Linked DNA regions of Homo sapiens: regions 2, 3 and 4 are each linked to region 1. The links are contacts of gene promoters, found by promoter capture Hi-C in blood cells and fetal thymus (Javierre and others, 2016). All regions are on one chromosome and are shown on one strand. The core of a region is centred on a gene start or on the middle of the fragment in contact, and the rest is flanking DNA. Distances in the headings are between cores, read along the strand shown.

What was found. Contacts are between HindIII fragments. The CHiCAGO score rates a contact against its expected background, and 5 or more counts as called.
Region 2: the fragment with the promoter of ZNF224 here is called in contact with the fragment with the promoter of ZNF260 in region 1 in 5 of 17 cell types (non-activated CD4 T cells, total CD4 T cells, monocytes and 2 more); the score reaches 12.8 in non-activated CD4 T cells.
Region 3: a contact is called between the fragment with the promoter of ZNF222 here and the fragment with the promoter of ZNF260 in region 1, in 5 of 17 cell types (activated CD4 T cells, non-activated CD4 T cells, naive CD8 T cells and 2 more). The highest score is 13.3, in activated CD4 T cells.
Region 4: a fragment that was not itself captured here is called in contact with the fragment with the promoter of ZNF260 in region 1 in 1 of 17 cell types (non-activated CD4 T cells); the score reaches 8.6 in non-activated CD4 T cells.

What each region holds. Positions count from the first base shown.
Region 1 is chr19:36,526,438-36,530,203 of GRCh38, reverse strand. It overlaps ZNF260 (zinc finger protein 260), which reads left to right and starts at 1,933. Exons shown (of 3, transcript NM_001166037.2): 1 at 1,933-1,985. RefSeq lists enhancers at 1,206-1,405, 1,217-1,925, 1,556-2,185, 1,926-2,636. The HindIII fragment of the contact is 4,591 bases long and covers 1-3,465 here.
Region 2 is chr19:44,092,024-44,095,789 of GRCh38, reverse strand. ZNF224 (zinc finger protein 224) reads right to left here and starts at 1,429. Exons shown (of 6, transcript NM_001321645.3): 1 at 1,260-1,429. RefSeq lists an enhancer at 1,510-1,619. The HindIII fragment of the contact is 10,144 bases long and covers 1-3,766 here.
Region 3 is chr19:44,023,249-44,027,014 of GRCh38, reverse strand. It overlaps ZNF222 (zinc finger protein 222), which reads right to left and starts at 1,636. Exons shown (of 4, transcript NM_001129996.2): 1 at 1,537-1,636. The coding sequence starts at 1,578. It overlaps ZNF222-DT (ZNF222 divergent transcript), which reads left to right and starts at 1,733. Exons shown (of 3, transcript NR_184028.1): 1 at 1,733-1,900; 2 at 1,996-2,117; 3 at 3,116-3,766. RefSeq lists enhancers at 1,341-1,390, 1,621-1,670. The HindIII fragment of the contact is 1,542 bases long and covers 280-1,821 here.
Region 4 is chr19:44,005,498-44,009,263 of GRCh38, reverse strand. ZNF230 (zinc finger protein 230) reads right to left here. Exons shown (of 5, transcript NM_006300.4): 2 at 2,171-2,253; 3 at 348-474; 4 at 94-180. The coding sequence starts at 2,185. Among named protein-coding and RNA genes, the nearest start is that of ZNF230, 4.4 kb to the right of the region's middle. The HindIII fragment of the contact is 6,269 bases long and covers 1-3,766 here.

The DNA.
Region 1 (3,766 bases), core at 684-3,183:
AAATAGCTTTCAATTATGTAGGAAGTTAAAATATCACTTAAAACATGAGATACATTTCAATATGTGCATATACAAATATGTGTATGTATATTTATGTATATGCATATATATCTACATATGTATATAGGTAAAACCAAACTAAGCATACATGATAAACTGAACCATTTGCTATATTAATAAGACAAAATTAGGAAGATTTTTCCAAAGAGTAACAGAAGATTCCAGGTTACTTGATAAGTCCTTTTAGGCATTTGCTAAGAAAAAAAAAATCAGCCGGGCGCAGTGGCTCATGCCTGTAATCCCAGCACTTTGGGAGGCCGAGGTGGACGGTTCACAAGGTTAGGAGTTCAAGACAAGCCAGGCCAACATAGTGAAGCCCCGTCTCTACTAAAAATACAACAACAAAAAAATTACCCGGGCGTGGTGGCCGGCACCTGTAATCCTAGCTACTCGGTAGGCTGAGGAAGGAGAATCGCTTGAACCTGGGAGGCGGAGGTTGCAGTGAGCCGAGATCGCGCCACTGCACACCAGCCCGGGCGACAGTGCGAGACTCCATCTCAAAAAAAAAAAAAATCAGGTCCTGGAAAAATAAAGCATTTCAGGAACAAAGAGAAAACTTCAAGGCACCTTAAACATGGCTTTTAGATATCACAACCGTTATTTCCTCTCCTCTGGGGAACCTCTCTTGGAGGACAGAAATGAGAAGGGAGACAATACACCTCCCCTAGGGCCCAAATGACAAGGCCAGAGCTTACTCTGCGTTCCCCTCCCCCGCCATGGGAGGGCTATCAGAGGAAACTGGGGCTTCCAACTCAAAACTCAGTGTCATAGAAAAATCCCCTTTACTATCACGGGGCCGAGCTGTCTTCTGCTCTCACATATGACTATGTGTGACATTTGGTCAAAGACACACAAACACAGTCTCAACTCCACGCACACCCAATGCTTCACAGTCACACACCCACCACTGTACACAAAGTCACAAGCACCCACCCTCCATACTCCCACACAAGGACACAGAGTCACAACTACATAAGTACAAAGCTCCCTATATCTGCACACAAACGAACATATGGTCACAGAGTTACAATCACACACCCACCGCGGGCACACAGTCACAGCTAACCCACACCCTCACACAGCGTTACACAGTCACACAATAACAGTCCTAACACAGGGACTCACGGGACACCCGCAGAGTCCTCCCCACATCCGTACACAAGGTGTCACACACAATCACAATCACACACACACTGTGCTAGGACATACATTCACAAAAACACAATTTCACAACCGCCCTTCTCGGCGCGTTCCGCCTGAACAGACTTAATACTCAGTCTCAACCTCCGCACCGGATTCCAGACGCTTCACCTCCAACCTCCTCCTGATCCTGTAGTCTCCGAGCCGACCCGCTCAGAGGCCAGCACCTGGGTCGCGTGCAGCTCTCCCCCGAGCCGCGGGAGTCGCGAGGGGAGGGGCCGAGGGCGCGGCGCCTTCTGGGAAATGTAGTTCAGCGCCACGCCCGCGATGAGCAAGATGGCGCCCGGCTTGAGCCCAGCCAAAGGGATTACCCTCATTCCCGAACCGTGTCTGAGAGTCTCCTGGGGTTCCTGGCTTAGTATCGCACCGTGGCTGTTACATAAAGTCAGCACAGCGTGTTTAAGCTGATGTTACACCACTACCCAATCCCAGGGATAGAGTAAACTAAGACTAAGGCCTTACACCCCTGCCCCGGCCAGGGAGACAGTCCCACAAGCTCTGGCGGAGGAAAAGTTCGCGCGAAAAGCTGACTCAAACCGCTGAACCTTCTGGGAAATGTAGTCTACCCTCAAAAGAGTGGCACGGAGGACGGGCCAAGATCTCTCGATTCCGTCCGGTTCTGAGTCGGGGCCTGGCCCAGCCCAGGAGACCTCTGGGAGCGCTGCCCGCGGAAGGAGTGCGCAGGCGCGGAATCTCCGACTTGCCATGGTCGTCTTTGTCTGCCGGTGAGTTGGGTTTCGGCCCTGTGGGACTTGGGTTTCTGGACACTGAAACGGGCCAGGGACGCTGGAGGGGAGGATTTGCAGTGCCTGCGACGGGGCTGGGAGTATGGAGGGGAGGAATCGCCTTCTATGATGTGCGGTGATCCGAGCTTGTGTGGCTGGGGGCAGGGGTACAGTTCGGGTGGGTTCGCGGGTGGGTGACCGAGAGTGTGAGGGGGTGTTGAGGGTGCAGAGTTAGTGAGAAACTGGTTCCAAGTTTGTGAGGATGGACGGATGGCTTTGTGAGGTAGTAACCTCTAAGCCTCACTTTTCTCATTTCTAAAATAATAAAGATGCGTTTTCTGGAAAATAGGAAACGGAAAAGGCTAAGGAATTGAGCGGATAAGTAATTTTAAAGGTGATTTTTTATATAAAAGCAGACCTATTGTGGAGTAGAAAACAAAATCAGCATTACCTTTCCATTATTTTTTTAAAGAGGCAAGATTTCGGAAAAACTTGTTACTGGGTGCCTGTACACCCAGTAGGCATTGACTTTTCTTAATACTTTGGAGAAACTTTGGTGCAGTTGCTTGGAGAAACCCTGAACTAAGGAATATCTTTAAGAGGTAGTTTCCAATAGCGCAGACGGCACAGAATTTGGAAGCTACTTGTCCTGCCTTTAGCGCAGAGGTCAAGAAACTCCCTAGTTCGTCAGTGAGGGCAGCAATCTCACTCCTAATTTAATCAGGGTTTCCCCAGCCTTTTGTAAATATAGGGGAAATTCTTTTCTTGTGTATACAAAGATAGAAGTATCCTATCTTCAAGTATCTTGTCACACTTATTCTTAACATATCAACATATTCAAGTATCTTGTCACACTTATTCTTAACATATTTTTCAATAAAATAAAAAAGTAACAGGGTTAATAGTTTTGAAATATACAGAAAAAGTAAAAGATACAAAGAAGACAGGACTTAGTTTCTGCTTTTCCCCTAACTATTGGTGTTTCTAAGTTTCTGGCCTTGATCATCTAAGTACTCCTATCAGCAACAACATTACACTGCCATCCATGGCTTCATCTAATACAGATGACTAATAAATGTCTGTTTCTGCTGGAGGCTTGTCCTGAGCTCCTAATCCATATTATCTAATTGCCCAATGTGCAGTCCACCTGGAAGTTACAGGGAACTTCAAGCTCTTTATGTCTAAAGGGCTCCTTCTTCCTGCAGTCTGCCTCCATCTATTTCCCCTCTGTACCTGTTTCAGCAATTTATAGCACTGTCTAGCCAGGTTCTAAGGCACTTACATCTTAGAGAAGGCTTCTAAGTAAGTTTGATCCTTTGATTTGTTATATCCCATTACAAATTGTAAACCAAGGTTTCTCAGCACACATAATCATAAATGTATATGTTTGCTGAATCAGTGAATGAACAGTCAGCCCTCTGTGTCTGTAGGCTCTGCTTCCACGGATTCAACAAACATGAATCATAACTGTTGTTAAGCTTGCGATGGTTGTATCTGTACGTGTACAGATTTTTTTTTCTTGTCATGATTCCCTAAACAATACAGTATAACAACTATTTACCAGACATTTACGTTGTATTACGTATGATAAGTAATCTGGAGATAATTTTAAAGTATATGGGAGGATGTGCATAGGTTATATGTAAATATACTTCCATTCACTTTATTTTTATTTTTTTGAGATGGAGTCTCACTCTGTCACCCAGACTGGAGTGCAGTGGTGCAATCTCGGCTCACTGCCACCTCTGCCTCCTGGGTTCAAGCGATTCTCCTGCCTCAGC
Region 2 (3,766 bases), core at 180-2,679, 7.6 Mb before region 1:
ACCACGCCCAGCTAATTTTTGTAATTATTTTTTAGTAGAGATGCGGTTTCACCATGTTGGCCAGGCTGGTCTCGAACTCCTGACCTCGTGATCCGCCCGCCTGGACCTCCCAAAGTGCTGGGATTACAGGCGTAAGCCACCGCGCCAGGCCCATTTTGTTCTTAATAAAGAAAAATAGAATGCTGTACAATGACATGGTTCTATAAGAATACAAAATATTTGTAATGATTGAAACAAAATAGTTGACAACATTTTTAGAAACTCAGAAAATTTCAAGCCCCTAAGTCTTGCTTTCCCCACCTAAGTCCAACTAGTTCCTCTGCCTCAGTGACAACGTATCCCAAGAGAAGATCAAATCAGGCTCTGACCCAGACTGCTTAGGTTCCAACCCCAGCTCCACCTCTCACTAGTCGGGTGCCTATGCGCTCTGTGTCTCACTTTCGTTTTTAAAATAGAAAAAAGCAATACTTCTCCACAGAGCCACGGTGTGGCGTAAATTTATTTGTATAAAGCCCTTAGAATGAAGTTACTAATTAAGACTTAATTATTATCGACCCCCATGCCCGAGGACACAACCTATACACTCTCGGTTGGGGTGAGCATCTCGGTCAAAGAGCCAAGGACCACTCACGTAGAGCTTTGCCCTCAGAAGCCAAGAAGTCCCTCCCTGCAGCTCTTCTGGAAAGGTCGGGTTGGGGAACGAGAAAGCTGTGAAACACCTTGACCGCGTCGCCGTCCCCCATAAAAGTTAAATGCTCCTTTCCCTTCATGAAAGTGGACGCAACCCTCGCTCTCCTAAAAAGAGGTCAGAAGGCTTCCGGGATCATCCAGCGTCCTGCAGGGATCAGGGAGAAGGGCCGAGGCCCCTGCAGCTGGAGCTCTGACCCCACCCGGTCCTTCGTGGGAAATTAACAAGAGACCACCAGTCACCAAGTGACAGGGACTGCTTTAAGGCTCTCATTTGTGTTACCTCTTCCAGTTCCCAAAACGATTCCATTAGGATGGCCCTAAAGTCCCCATTTTAAAGAACAGTAACGGGAAACCCAAGGAGATTAACACCCCAACGTTATATCGAGAAGAAGTGGCCACGCGCGTGGGGTGCAGGGGGCGGAGTGGGCGAGCTCAGAGCCCCGGAAACCCTGAAACCAGGTGAGACGCGACCCAACCAAGTACCAATGCCCCCGGGAAGCGAGGACAGACCCAAGCCCAAGAAGGTGCCACGGACGAGAACGCAAACAGCGGCCCTTGCCCCTCCAAACCTCTACTCTCCGACGAGGCCCCTTTTCCCCTAATTCGATCACCAGTTCTTTGAGGATCCAATGCGTAGGTCCAGGAAATTCAGAAGGGCCTGCAACGCGCGGAACTGCCCCAAACTATCGCGGAAAAACTGCAGCAACCTCAGTCCCCGAGCGGAAGTGTCCGCGACTCCACCGAATGTTTGGACTCCACTTCCCAGAATTCCCCGGGACCCGCCAGCCGGAGCCAAACTGACCGCGACTCCACTGAGCGTCTGGACTACACTTCCCAGAATTCCCTGGGACCCAACTGCCGGAGCTAAACCGACCGCGATTCCACTGAGGGTCTGGACTGTACTCCTGCAGCATTACACTCAAAGGGAAGTGTTGACGACTACTGGGAAGCCCTTGACCACTCTTCCCACGGGGAACGAATCTCGTACCCCCGAGCGCCTGTTGGGAAATGTGGACTTCTACCCTGAGAGTCGTCCTTCCCTCTCCCTGGGTGCCTAAGAGAAAATACCGTATAGAAAGGAATTCCTGAAGTCTAAACCCCTCTAGTGAGGACAGGAGTGTTACTGGAAAGGGAACAAGCGAGATGATACACTCTTCAAATAAGTTTTGCCAGTGGTAAGAAATGGCATGTAGTTTTAATTTATAACTCTTGTAAAGATGGCATATTCTTGCATATTTTCAGGTGTCATTATTACATTTTTTGTAAATTGTCCAGATGTTTTGCCCACTTTCTTATTGAGTTTTTGGTTTTATCCCTCACTTTTCAAGCACTGTTCTTATATTCATGATATTAACATTTTATCTCGCAAATATTTTCTCAACAAAAACGTTTTTTTTTATTGTTTTATCTATGCAAAACATTTTAATGTATTTTATTATTTAAAACATCTCTATTGAGGTGTAATGCACAAAACGTGAAATTCACCATTTTAGGATATATGTAGTACAAATAAAAAGTTAGGAAACATTTTCATCACCCCAAAAACCCCATACCCACTAAGCAGTCACTGTCTAACACTAATCTCTGTCCTATTGAATTACCTATTGTGGACATTTCATATAAATGGAATTATACATTATGGAACCTTTTGTTTCTGACACCTTTCACTTAGCATCCTGCTTCTTTTTTTTTTTTTTGAGACGGAATCTCAAAAAAAGTGCCAGGCTGGAGTGCAGTGGCACGATCTTAGCTCACTGCAACCTCCGCCTCCCGGGTTCAAGCGATTCTCCTGTCTCAGCCTCCCGAGTAGCTGGGACTACAGGCGCGTGCCACCACGCCTGGCTAATTTTTCTGTATTTTTAGTAGAGACGGGGTTTCACCGTGTTAGCCAGGATGGTCTCGATCTCTTGACCTCGTGATCCTCCCGCCTCGGCCTCCCAAAGTGCTGGGATTACAGGCGTGAGCCACCGCGCCCTGCCAGCATACTGCTTTTAAAGTTCATCCACATCACAGCATGTACCAGTACTTCATAATATTTTATGTTTCTACTACGATTTGTTTTTTTTGTTTGCTTTGTCTTGTTTTGTTTTGAGGTGGGGTTTCCCTCTTGATGCCCAGGCTGGAGTGCAATGGCACGATCTCAGCTCACTGCAACCCCCGCCTCCTGGGTTAAAACGATTCTTCTGCCTCAGCCTCCCAAGTAGCTGGCATTACAGCCATGCGCCACCACACCCAGCTAATTTTTTTGTATTTAGTAGAGACAGGGTTTCACCAGGTTAGTCAGGCTGGTCTCGAACTCCTTACCTCAGGTGATCCGCCCACCTCAGCCTCCCAAAGTGCTGGGATTACAGGCTTGCGCCACAATTTGTTTATCCATTCATTGATTGAGGGACATTTGGGTTCTTTCCACCTTTTGGCTGTAGTCAATAGTGTTGCTACAAACAGTGGTGTACAAGTATTTGTTTCATCACCTACTTTCAATTCTTTGGGGTATATACCTAGATATGAAATTTAGTGATTCATATGGTAATTCTATGTTGGGAACCACGAAACAATTTTCCACAGCAACTGCACCATTTTTACATTCCCACCTTCAGTGTGTGAGGGTAGTAATTTCTCCACATCCTCTCCAATACTTATTTTGTATATATGTATGTATAAAATATATATGTATATGTATATGTGTGTGTGTATAAATTGAAAACGGGGTCTCCCTGCGTTGTGCAGGCAGAATTGCAGTGGCTATTCACAGACAACATCTCACTACTGATCAGCATGGGAGTTCTGACCTGCTGTGTTTCCACCCTGGGCCAGTTTACCTCTCCTGAGGCAACCTGGTAGTCCTCTGCTCCTGGGAGATCACCATGTTGATGTCGACTTAGTGTGGACACCCAGTGGGCATAGCTCACTACACCTCAAAACTCCTGGGCTCAAGCGATCCTCCTACTTCAGCCTCCCAAGTAGCTGGGACTGCAGGTGCCTGCCACCACATCGGCTATTTTCTATTTTTAAAGATGATAGCTAACATAGCTGTTGTAAAATGGCATCTCATTATTGGTTTGATTTGCATTTTCCT
Region 3 (3,766 bases), core at 387-2,886, 7.5 Mb before region 1:
TCAAGCAGATGTCACCTCAATCTTACGGCCAAAGACTATTGGGAGACAGCAGCATTGCACTGGCACAAGGGACAAGTGTAAAGTTGTTTTGGATCTTGAGAGACATAGGTCAGCTTATAGATTTCCTACTTATTCTGTTTGTGTCCTGACAATGACTGATTAGGCAATAGGGGTTTGGAATGGAGACTGCACACACCAGTCAACAGGGTGTGTCCTGAATAAATAGTGGGTAAAGGACATTTACTGAGATGCTATCTCTAACTCCACTTCAGGAAAGCTTGCTGCAGAGTTAGAGTGATATAGTCCAAATGCTCTGTTTGAGTCGCGGGCCCTTTGACGAAAATGAGACTGAGGCAGGAGAATCACTTGAACCCGAGAGGCGGAGGTTACAGTGAGCCAAGATTGCACCACTGCACTCCAGCCTAAGCAACAAGAGCGAAACTCTGTAAAAAAAAAAATATATATATATATAGAGAGAGAGAGAGAAAGAAAATAGTAGATAAGGTTAAAAAAATTAAAAAGCAAAAAGCAAACAAACAAAAACTCCTATAGAAGTCCAAGCCCCTGAGCCTTGCCTCAAGGTGCCTTCAATCAAGTCCTAACTTACGTTCTCCACCTGTTCCCAGCTAGTACCTCTGCCTCAATGAGAATTGCATTCAAGAGATGATCAACTCAGGCTCTAACCTGGACTGCCTAGGTTTCAACTCCTGCTCCACCTGTGTCTCACGCCCATCTTTAAAATGAAAAAAGCAGCACCTCTCCACAGTGCCACTGTGAAGATCATGTATTTTGGGGTATAAAGTACTTGGAATAAAGTTACCAATTAAGGCTTAATCATTATCGACACCCATGCCCGAGGGACAAATCCTACACACTCTCGGTTGAGGTAAGCATCTCTGTCAAAGAAAAAAAGCCAAGGATCACTCACGTAGAGCTTTGCCATCAGTAGCCAAGAAGTCCCTTCCTGCAGCTCTTTTAGAAAGGTCGGGCTGGGGAAAAAGAAAGCTGTGAAACACCCTGACCGTTTTGCCGTCCCCCATAAAAGTTAAATGCTCCCCTCACTTTCCTAAAAAGAGGTCAGAAGGCGTCAGGGATCATCCAGCGTCCTGCAGGGATCAGGCAGAAGGGCCGGCGCCCCTGCAGCTGGAGCTCTGACCCCACCAGAGGACCTGACAGGCTTCGTGGGAAATTAACAAGAGACCACCAGACACCGAGTGACAGGGACTGCTTTTAAGGCTCTCATTTGTGTTACCTCTTTCAGGTCCCAAAATGAATCCATTAGGATGGTCCGAAAAGTCCCGTTACAAAACAAACAAACAAACGAACCAGCAATGGAAGATAAACGGACATTAAGTGACACTCCACACCACACTGAAAGGGGCTGCACACGTAGGGAGGAGGGAGGCGGACTAAGCGAGGTCAAAGTAGGGCACACCGGGCCGCGCCAATCCCACTCCCTGAGACCCTAGCAGAGCCCCCCGACGCCAGAAGGCTCAGCTGACTGGAACGGCAATCCCCGCCCGCGCCCCTCCAAACCTCTGCTCTCCGCCCAGGCTTCTTTTCTCCTGAATCGATCATTGGGTGGTTGCGAGCCCCAAGGAAAGGAGACTCGTTCGGAAGGACTCGCAAGATGTGGAAATGACTCAAACTACTGTGGTAAATGAAATAGCAACGTCACAGTTGGGGACCGGAAGTGCTCGAGCCTCCACAGAGCGTGTGGACTCCACTTCCCAGAATTCCCCGGACTCGCCCGTGTGAGACAAAGGGCCCGCGACTCAAACAGAGCATTTGGACTATATCACTCTAACTCTGCAGCAAGCTTTCCTGAAGTGGAGTTGGAGATAGCATTTCAGTAAATGTCCTTTACCCACTGCTTATTCGGGACACACCCTGTTGACTGGTGCGTGCAGTCTCCATTCCAAACCACTATTGCCATTCCTATCGCTTCCATAAAGCCTAAGAAATCAAATATTTTCTTTCTCTGCCTTCATCTAGCTAGAAATTTTCATGGGACACAATTTTGGGAAGTGAGACATTAGGAGAAGTGAGCTGTCCTCTCCTGACAAGAAATGTGCTTGGCAGGCTGTGAGTACACGAGGAGTTGAAAGAGTAAAAAGGTGATCGTCTCAGTGGACTGTAGGTATTGGCGAGGTTCTAATATTACTGATGCTAGCATGCTGGTGGGACCAAGGTGGAAATACAAGTCAAAGTTGTTGGAGAGTAGTGCTGCAAATTATTATGGAGGAATATTTGCTAGAAAATGACGAGGTCTAAAATATGACCATGGGAGAGAGTGTCCCTTGATATTTCACATGAATCTCAGGTGGATTTTTTCATTTCTGAGAAAAATGTTACTGTGATTAAGGATTGCATTGAATCTATAGATATAGGTATTGACAGCCTTGCAATATCAAGTCGCCCAATCCATTAATAATGGATATATCTCCATTTATTTGCGCCTTCTTTAATTTTTTTTTTTTTTTTTTTGAGACAGAGTCTCACTCTGTCGCCCAAGCTGGAGTGCAGTGGCACAATCTTGGCTCACTGCAACCTCCGCCTCCTGAGTTCAAGCGATTCTCCTGCCTCAGCCTCCCAAGTAGCTGGGATTACAGGCACGTACCACCATACCTGGCCAATTTTTGTATTTTTAGTGAAGACAGGGGTTTCACCAGGTTGGCCAGGCTGATCTCGAACTCCTGGCCTCAAGTTATTCGCCTGCCTGGGCCTCACAAAGTGCTGGGATTACAGGCATAAGCCACCATGCCTGGGGTGCCTTCTTTAATTTTCTTTAGTAAGATGTTGCAAAATTCAGTGTCCAAGTGTTTCTTGTCATTGGTTAAGACAGTTCCTAAGTAATTTATTTATTTAATGCTATTGCAAAGGGAACTATTTTCCTTTTCAGATTAATTGTTTTTGTATAGAAATACAACTGCTTCTTCTATGTAGATATTTTTCCTGCAACTTTCTGACTTTACTAGCTCTAAGAGTTTTTTTTTCTTGTGAATTCTTTAGAATTTTTATATATAAGAACATGTCATTAGCATATAGACAATTTTACCTCTGTTTCCAATTTTAATAGCTTTATTTTCTTTTTCTATCTAATTGTTCTGCATAGAACTTCCAATACTACATTGACTAAATGTGGGAAAAGTGGAGAAAACTCATTGTGTTCCTGATATTAGAAGAAAAGCTTTCAGTCCTTCACCATTGAGTATGACAATCAGCTCTGAGAATTTCCATATATAGCCTTTATTTTGCTGGGGTAGTTTATTCTCCTTCTAGTTATTTGGTATTTCAATCATGAAAAGGTGCTAGGTGCTGAATTTTGTGAAACTGAATGTTCTGCATTCACTGACATGATGTGATTTATACCTTCCACTCTGCTCATGTGGAGTATTACATTGATATTTGTATGTTGAACCATAATTATATTCGCCTTCCAGGAATAAAACAGTTCGGTCACTAAGTGTAATCCTTTTAATATGCTGCTGGATCTTGCTGGTATTTTGCTGGTGAATTCTTGCATCAGTATTCATAAGGGATATTGGTGTATAATTTTATTGAATTGTCTTTTTCTGGTTTGGCATCAGGGTAATACTGACCTGACAGAAGGATCAAAGAAGTGTTCTCTCTTCTTGCATTTTTGGGAAGAGGTTGAGCAGCTATGGTGTTAAATGTTCCTTAAATGTGTTGAAGCGTTTGCCAGTGAAGCCATCTGATCCTGGGCTTTTCTACATTGGGAGGTTTTGGATTACTGATTCAATCT
Region 4 (3,766 bases), core at 585-3,084, 7.5 Mb before region 1:
TTTAGATCAGGGTGATATAAGTGGGCATGGTCAGAAGTAAAACAAATGGGAAAGAAAGTCATGTACAAGGACACACAGTTGCTTGCTTCTTACCTGAATTTCCTTCTCTTTGGGTTGCTGTCTCCATCATCCAAAACTTTTCTTCCCTTAGGAAGTGGAAAGGGTGGAATGGTTGATGCCCTGTGAACATGCAAAGTCATGTGCTTAATACCAATTCATTCTAGGTAATATCAAGGTAAAATTTACTGGAAATTTAAGTTCCCACTGCATACACAAACTTGAATACTCTAGGATACAAAGCCACTCCTGAGGCCTGATGTACCATTACAGAGGGTGCCTGTGCTCACCCACTGACAGCAGGTTCGTGAAGTTCTCAAGCATCACGTCTTGGTACAGCTTCCTCTGGGCAGGGTCCAGTAGCCCCAGTTCCTCCTCAGTGAAGAACACAGCCACATCCTTGAAGGTCACTGCCTCCTATAACATCAAGGATACATAACCTCAATCCTATGACCATGGACTACTGGGGGAGGAGCAGCATTGAGCAGGCGGAGAGGAGAAGTGGAGGTCAACTTATAGATTTCCCACTCATTCTGTCTGTATCCTGACAGTGATTTTCCTGAGCTCCACCAGAAGTGCAATCATGAAAAAGACCTCCTGTATTTTTACTTTGTGCACTTACTGAGTCTCCTTGTAAGTAACCCCTTAGGATTTCAAATGGTGCATCCTGGGCTACACCTATATAGGTTTCAATGAATTTTGCCAATTGCCCCAGTTGCCCCAGCAACAATGAGCAATTCAGTCTCAACCTTGTTTGATGAGGCTTATTGTCCTCCTCTCTCAGACCCAAACCCTGGATGCTATCACTTTTCTTTAGTATTTGCCAAACTAACAGGTTTTAGGTAACTATTTTCAAAGTAGCCTTGGATCCATTCTCCCCACTTTCTTGTTTATAGGTCTCAAGAATAACCATAAATGTGCTAGTTATGCAGTGTCCTTCCCAGGGAAGATAACATCTTTTTATTTTTTTTTATGCCTTCTTTGGTTCTAGTCCAATCCATAAAAGATAATATCTTGAGTTAGAGAGGAACTGCTCAGTAAGTCATGTTACCCCTGAGGCATATAGCCTGGGACAGGCTGCCTCTTGGGGTGCCTCAGCTATGGTGCAAATGGGGCAAGTGCAGTCGTGACTCCACCCACTCTAGGCAGCTTTCTTAAGCCTTGGAGGACTGGCTCACAGTGGATCATAGGCTTCTGTTGTCCCTTGCTACCTACATGTAATAAATCTGCTTTATGTAATTTGTCATACATGAGTGTGCTCTCTCATGGTAGACTCGCCAAGTCTGTAACTAGTGAACCTGTTCCATGGAATTGGTGCAGCCAGCAGGGTCCAATTTGACAGAACTCTGGACTGGCAAAGGGGGAGCACTTATATCCTGGGCAATTGGCCCAGTGCTGTGATGGCAGCCTGGGGGCGCAGGCTGGACAGCAGCTTGATGATTTATAAAGAAGACAGAATGATAAGCGGGACACAGGCCACCCCTCCACAGATGTGAGCTGGCTGCATGGATTGAGACAGAAGGACAGAATACGGAAACACAGGAGCTTGGTGTGTGATCCGCTGATTGCGACACCTTAAATAATAGCTCATTCCTGGGGCCAGAGGACTCAGGAGGTGGGTGAAGTGGGTCAGAGGGTCCCTGGAGCATCTAAGAGAAATGGAGCCAACATGCGCAATGTGGGCCTCCACAGAAAGGGGGACTAACTATCTGATGGACAAGTATGAAGAAAACCAGAAGGACATGTTATCTTGGTGTATAGAGCACTCTTGACATAAGGAACTCCATCATCAATACAAATACAGTTATGAATGTACAAGGAACAGCACAAGAAGAAAAATCAGGCTAATTTGAGAGCAAGGAGGTGAAGAAGTGGGAGCACTGTTCATTCCTACTAATTTTTCTACTCCATAATGTAACAGTAAAAAACAAAACAAAACCCAAACCAAAAACCAAATGCAAAGTCAACACAAAAGAGACAAAGGAAGCAACTGGCACACAACAGGTCCCAAATGCCCATTTCCTCCTTGAGTCTTCCCAAGACAGAGAAAAATATATGACAATATGAGCAATAAGATGGAATTTTAATAGCAAGAGAGGTGAGCTCTACTCACCTTGAATGTGGTCATTTTTCCTACTACTTTTTGGAGTCTTCAGTGTCTTGAGTAATGGAGCACAAAGGAAGGTGGAATTGTGCCTGGAAAATGCCAGAGACAGCAAAAGAGAGACATGAAATGGTGGCTGGGGAGGCTGTGTAGCAACAAGCACATGTATTATGAATGATCACAGCAGCATTATTCATACTAACCCCAAAACTGTGCACAACCAAAATGCCTTCCTCTGGGTAAATGGATAGAAAAATCATGGCATATCCATATAATGGAATCTAATTTGGAAATTAAAAGGAATGAAGTACCAACCCATGCTACAACATGCACAAACCTTGGAAACATCATAAGAGAAAGAAGCCAGTCACCAAAATCCATGGATTAGATGATTCCATTTATATGAAATGTCCGAATAGGCAAATGTATACATAGAGGAAAAGTAGGTTAGTGGTTGCTCCAGATTTGGGGTGAGAATGAGGTTTAATTGTAAATGGGCACAGAGTCCAACTGAGGGTGAAAAATAACTAAACTGAATTATGATGATGGTTACTCCACTTTACAAAGTTCCTAAAGATCACTGTACTCCTGAAATGAGTGAATGCTTTATGTAAAATATACCTCAATAGAGTTGAAAAAAAATTGCTAATCCACATGTCATTTACCTTCATAAGACTGAATTCTGAGTCCATATTGTTGGGAGATTTATACTTGAACAAACAAATGAATAAATGAAGAGAACTAGAAGTTCATCTTTAGTAGAATGCCCACTAATAATGTACCTTCCAATAAGAAACTTGAGTTTTTTTAAAAAAGGTAACTTTACAGCGGACAAATCTGAAAGGCATCATCTTGGCCAAGTGAACACAGTTGAGATCACCAGTGAAGGGACAAACCACATCATGTGAACCCTGTTATGTTGCAATAAAGAGGAAACCTCATCACTTGTGCAATATCCTTACCAACAATACATAATCTGAAACTAAACATGAAATATATCAAACTCCAAATGAACATCTTTCTCCAAAATAACTTTCCTATTAAAAAAAAAACCACCATGTTTATAAAAGACAAAGACTGTGGAATCTTTCTAGACTAAAGAAACTGTGGAATGTGACAACTAAAGACAATGCATAAACTGGACTTTGAATGGCATTGCAGGTGAAGGGTGGGGTAGGGGACACAGTCATAAGGACTTTATTTTTTTATTTTTTGAGACAGAGTCTCGCTCTGTCACCCATGCTGGAGTGCAGTGGCGCGATCTCAGCTCACTGCAACCTCCGCCTGCTGGGTTCAGGTGATTCTCTTGCCTTAGCCTCCCAAGTAGCAGGGATTACAGGAGCATGCCACCACACCCGGCTTTTAAAAATATTTTTAGTAGAGACAAGGTGTCACCATGTTGGCCAGGCTGGTCTCGAACTCCTGACCTCAGGAGATCCACCCGCCGTTGCCTCCCAAAATGCTGGGATTACAGGCATGAGCCACTGTGCCTGGCATAGGACTTTAAATGAAAAACTGAACAAATTTAAATATGTAACTACAGATTAGATAACAGGATGTTAGGTAATATGCTATTCAACACTATCTAATGAGTAACACTACAAC